2 separate regions of the Homo sapiens genome follow, and region 2 is linked to region 1. The links are contacts of gene promoters, found by promoter capture Hi-C in human tissues and cell types (Jung and others, 2019). All regions are on one chromosome and are shown on one strand. The core of a region is centred on a gene start or on the middle of the fragment in contact, and the rest is flanking DNA. Distances in the headings are between cores, read along the strand shown. Region 1 holds the start of SLC24A5 (solute carrier family 24 member 5). Region 2 overlaps MYEF2 (myelin expression factor 2).

What was found. The method cuts DNA at HindIII sites, captures the fragments that hold promoters and counts their contacts. A contact is called where the count stands out against the background at its distance.
Region 2: a fragment that was not itself captured here is called in contact with the fragment with the promoter of SLC24A5 in region 1 in 1 of the 25 tissues and cell types used here (dorsolateral prefrontal cortex).

The regions. Positions count from the first base shown.
Region 1 is chr15:48,119,517-48,122,319 of GRCh38, forward strand. It overlaps SLC24A5 (solute carrier family 24 member 5), which reads left to right and starts at 1,474. Exons shown (of 9, transcript NM_205850.3): 1 at 1,474-1,649; 2 at 2,341-2,520. The coding sequence starts at 1,529. The HindIII fragment of the contact is 7,987 bases long and covers 546-2,803 here.
Region 2 is chr15:48,164,053-48,166,896 of GRCh38, forward strand. It overlaps MYEF2 (myelin expression factor 2), which reads right to left. Exons shown (of 17, transcript NM_016132.5): 4 at 2,069-2,076; 5 at 1,881-1,974. Among named protein-coding and RNA genes, the nearest start is that of MYEF2, 13 kb to the right of the region's middle. The HindIII fragment of the contact is 6,022 bases long and covers 1-2,844 here.

The sequences.
Region 1 (2,803 bases), core at 224-2,723:
TCACAATCACACCATACATCTGAATATCTAGTTCCTAGAAATGACAGTTTTGGAGAGGTTTATAATGGATACCAATTCCCACAAAAAAAAGTAGTTTTTGAGACTTTCTTCCGACCCAAGATCACAAACATCAGGAAGCAACTTACTCCGTTCCATCAGATAAAGCTAGTTTCTAAATAGAAAACTTACTAGGCATATCAATTTTTGTGTTTTTTCTGCAAAGCAAAGGAACCATGAAAGTTGCAAAACTACAAAAATTTTTATGAACAAAAACGCTTCTATTTCAATTGAAAGAAAGAAAGAGAAAGAAAAAGAAAGAAAGAAAGAAAGAAAGAAAGAAAGAAAGAAAGAAAAAGAAAAGAAAAGAAAGGAAGAAAGAAAGAAGGAACGAAGGAAAGGAAGGAAGGAGGGAAGGAAGGAAGGAGAGAAAGAGGAGGAGGAGAAGAAAGGAAGGAAGGAAGGAAGGAAGGAAGGGAGGAAGGAAGGAAAACAAACAAAACAAAGAAAAAGAAAGGAAGGAATGAAGACGTCAGCCAGAGGTCGTTCTGAGCAAATTATTTGCGTTCATTTTTGTAATTCTTACCACAACCCAAATACAGGTGATCCCTGTTTTACAGATAGCAGAACTGTGTAGCAGAAAGGTTAAATAACATGCCAAAAGTCACATAACTAGTAAGTAGCAGTGCTAGGGCTCAAATCATGTGGTCTGGTTCCATAGCCTGTGCTATTAGCTATAGGTTACTACACTGCCAAAAGTTCTAAATATCTTGGCAAGCCTCATAAATGTTAGCATAGGGAAGATAGTAGTCTATATTTAAACACTACCTTGTACGTCAAATTTGCATTTTAGATAGCTCCCTCTGGCAGAAAGCACAGCCTATCAATGATCAAATAGCATCCACTCCATCTCAATAATTCTTGAAACTGTCAGCTACTCTCCATCCCCGTTGCCACAGCCTTGGTTCAAGCCACTATCATTTCTCAGCTAGACGATTGCAATGATGCCCTAACTGGCCTTTCTCCCTTTGGCCCTAACTGAAGATGAAGATGAGAGGCTAAAACAGAAATATGAAAGGATGCCGAGCTAGCCAAAGCATGTACATATATTAATATCAACCCAAACAACTTCTAGGGGAAAGGGCTGGAGAGAGATGGGAAGCAGTTGCAAACCCAACTTTTTACAAATCTAGAGAAAGTCAAAAGCAGAGCCAGTATGAAGACATTAAATAAAACCACACATTTTCATAAAGTACAAGCTGCCTTAATCTGCCCTTAGAGACTGTAGGCCATGGAAATAGCTATAGACAATGGTTGTCAGCTCTCCTCCGTCTCCTCCGGCCTCCCTGGAGATTGGGTCTCCTGATCAGAGAAGCTTGACTGGCTACACTCGCCCTTTCTCCTGTGCTGGCCTTGCTGAGATGTGCCCTGGGCAGGGTATTGGGCAGGAAGGAGACTCCTCACATGATCCAGTTTAATCCTCCTCTTCTCCCTTCCTGAAGCTGCACGCTGCAGTAAGAGCACAGCAGAAATGCAGACAAAAGGGGGCCAAACATGGGCGAGAAGGGCTCTGTTGCTCGGCATCCTGTGGGCCACTGCACATCTGCCTCTCTCAGGGACCTCCCTGCCCCAACGTCTCCCAAGGGCCACAGGTAGGTGGACATTGGGGTCAGTTAGCTCTGCAGCAGCAGCTGCTGCTGCTGCTACCACATACAGATGAAGGGACAAAAAGAGGAAAATTCTCAATGGGCTCACTTTTACTTACGCTTCTGAATTTTAGCATTTAAAAAGATATCAAACACTTTTGATCCTTCAAATAAGTTCTTAAATATACTCCAAAGTAATTCACAGAGATCATAGTAGGCCAAGTCTCCAGTTTTTGTTCTTGGAGACTTTTTGGTGAAAACAAAAAATCTTTCATCTTAGAAATTCTCTCTGCAACAGTGGATGGATTCTTTGCAGGCCTGTGAACAATTTAGGCTCTGCAATGAGAAAACGAAATTGTATAAACAATAGAAATCTTCATGTATCAGAGATACAGTTTCTACTTGGGGAAGAGAGATTCAGAAATAAAAACAAGGAGGAGTGATTTCATGATTTCCTCTTTTTAATTCTTCACCATCATCAACATATTTCATTAAGATATCTCTTTTCAGTCCCCCAAAAAAATTTTTTGAAAACTCTACAACTGTGTTATATTCAGAAGCGCTTTATACATTTTCAGTGGGTCCTTAAAATTCCACCCGGTTACCCCACACTTACAGATTTCTTAAGGAAGCTCTCTGTGGGCTTGGAATGTGTGACTCCAAACTCTTCAAACTTTCACCTCCTTTTCCTTAACAGGAAATAGCACCCAATGTGTTATTTCTCCATCATCGGAGTTTCCCGAAGGGTTTTTCACGAGACAGGAGCGCAGAGATGGAGGCATCATAATCTATTTCCTAATTATCGTTTACATGTTCATGGCCATATCTATTGTCTGTGATGAATACTTCCTACCCTCCCTGGAAATCATCAGTGAATGTAAGTGGCTGGAAAGTTGCCCTGTAACCTTCTGGGAGAGTGTGCCACACAGATATGACTGTCTTTGAAATAGCTCAGCAGCTGTCCTGTACTTCTCAACTGGTTGCAGAGCACCAGCTTCTTGTTGTGGGGTCCCGTGTCTTAAGGAACTGGTCGAGTGTGGTTTCTCTTGGTAGTTAATGTGAATCAGAGTTTCTTCAAGTTAGAACCCGGCAGTTATTATTTTTCTGCCTATTTCCAGAAATCTCTAGTTTGTCTACTGCCTGGATGTTTGTTATAAGAA
Region 2 (2,844 bases), core at 147-2,646, 44 kb after region 1:
AAGCCTGATTATTTAAGAAATACAATTTGTAAGGCTATTGCTGTCATAGACAGTGATTCCTCTGATAGACCTGGGCAAAGTAAATTAAAAACCTTCTGGAAAGAATGTACCATTCTAGATGTCATTAAGAACATCTGTGATTCATAAGGTCAAAATATCAATACTAACAGGAGTTTGGAATAAGTGGATTCTAATCCTAATGGATGACTTTGAGGGCTTCAAGATTTCAATGGTGGATGTAACTGAAGATGTGATGGAAAGAGCAAGAAAACTAGAATTAGAAGTGGATCCTGAAGATGTGAATAAATTGCTGTAAACTCATGATAAAACCTAAACAAATTAGGAGTTACTTCTTGTATGAGCAAAGAAAGTCATTTCTTGAGATGGAATCTACACCTGGTGAATATGCTATGTACACTGTTGAAATGACAACAAAGGATTTAGAATATTATATAAATTTAATTGATAAAGCAGCAGCAGGTTTGAGAGGACTGACTTCAATTTTGAAGGAAGTTCAACCGTAGGTAAAATGCTATCAAACAACATCACATGCTTCAGAGAAATCTATTATGAAAGGAAGACTCAACTGATACAGCAAACTTCATTGTTCTTAATTTAAGAAATTGCAACAGCCACCCCAAACTTTAGTAACCATCACCCTGATCAGTCAGCAGCCATCAGCACTGAGGCAAGACTCTCCACCAGCAAAAAGGTTACAGTGAAAGTTCAAATGATCACTAGCATTTTCAGCAATAAAGTATTTTTAAATTAAGGCATGTATATTGTGCTTTTAGACATAATGCTATTGCACACTTTAAACAGAATATAGTATAAACGTAACTTTTATGTGTACTGCAAAACCAAAACATACATATGACACAGTTTATTGTTATATTTGCTTTATTGCAGTAGTCTGGAACCAAACCTACAATAGCTCCAAGGTATGCCTCTATTATCAGTAGTACTACTACCATTACTTCAGTTTAGAGAAATTAAGTAGCATGTCTAGACACCCACTAGAAAGTGATAAAGCCAGGAATCAAATCATTAGTATACTATTAAATGCCATGGGTGACAGTACTGCTCTACAACCAATGATTAGCATCAGTATTAGTACAAAATCTTCAGGGTCCCAAAGTTACACTATTTATCTCTTTTAACACAGACTTTAGCAAGTATATGTACATAACAGGTCTGTAATCAAACTATTAAGATTAACAATACAAAATAAAGGAACCTATGAAGATGAGTGCTATTCAAGCCAATCATTCTCAAGGTTAAACTGTAAATTTTTTGTTTGTATCTTCTAGTCATTTTTTGTCAACCTGTTTACACTGCTACAATTTTGTACAAAGAAGACATTTCCATTTTAGGGGATTCCAACTTCTAGTTATAAATTTCACTAACAAAGTTATAATTTTTCTTAAATTTTAATCTAGTACAGTTTCCAAGTAACTCTGATAAAAAGTGAATATCAATTTTATTCAAATCCATAACATATTTGCATTAAGTGACCTTTAATTATCAATTACAAGGATATTATATTTCTCAAATAACAAAATCTAAATATTGAAAATGTCTGTACCAAATAAACTTAGCACCTAAAGTTTATCCCCTTTGAATTTCTAGGTCCTCAAATTTTTTTAAATTATGTGCTTTTATTTTTAACAACTTGGAACCAATCAAGTATATAGGATAACTGCTTAACAGCAAATATAAAATCATGTACAAGTAAAACTTTCGTCAATATATAATGCTTTAATGAACACCTATGTTTTAAAAAAAAGTTGTAGTCAGGCAAATATATTACCAAATTGAAAATCCAAGGAAAACATGTCTTTATAGTCAAATGTTTAAATTCTAAATATGAGAAATCTTACCTCTTTAATATTAAGGGGTCTTCCACTAAGATCATATTTGTTCATAGTTTCTAGGGCTTTCTTTACAAATTCTTCATCTTTGAATTCAACCACACTTAATAGGGAAAAAATTTATAGGAAATGTTTATGTGCTAATTTTTTTCCAAAGTTTAATTTGACTTAAGATACTTAAAGAAAAAATTTCTTACCCACAACCCTATATCCAGGTAGATTTGTCAAAATATGCAAAAGAAAAAAAGTTTTAGATCAGTACATGAAGTTAATAATCAGTTCTAACATTTCAATCATTAAGGCAATTAATAATATGGTAGAATCACTTCATCTTTTATACCTCCAGAACATAACAGGCAAGTAACCACAAATTTTCTCTAAATTTTTAAATATATCTATTAAAGATAGTAGACTCTAACATGTAACAAGCTTGGAGCACATTTTTCACTTTTAGGTGACTTTTCATTAAGTTAAAATTAATGTCACTGCACAAATTAAATCAACAGGAATTCAAGGAAATAACTAAAGGCTCCAATAGACCTATCCTTCTGTAGTTACAAATATTTTCAAAAAATGTATTGTCTACGACATATTTTTCAACTCTATTAAAATCAAAATAGTGAATAAATATTAATTTTATTTTTAACAAGTTCTCTATTAGATTAAAACTGGCTGCACATTTAACAGCACCCAGTTGGAAGTATGTAAAAATCATCTATAAACTAATAATAAATTAATTTGGAGAGTTATTTAAAAAATAATTCCCTGTGATTGCCATTCAAAGTCCCATATGAATGTAATGACAAAATTTTTATTCATCATGCACCCAACTAGTTTTACTAACATAATGAAACATTGCTAAGAGTTTTCCATTGTATTCTTCAGTATACTGCATTCTTATTGCTAAAAATCAAAATATACTATCAACCAATTCCTTCTACGTCAATATAATCGTAAATGTCATTCATACCAA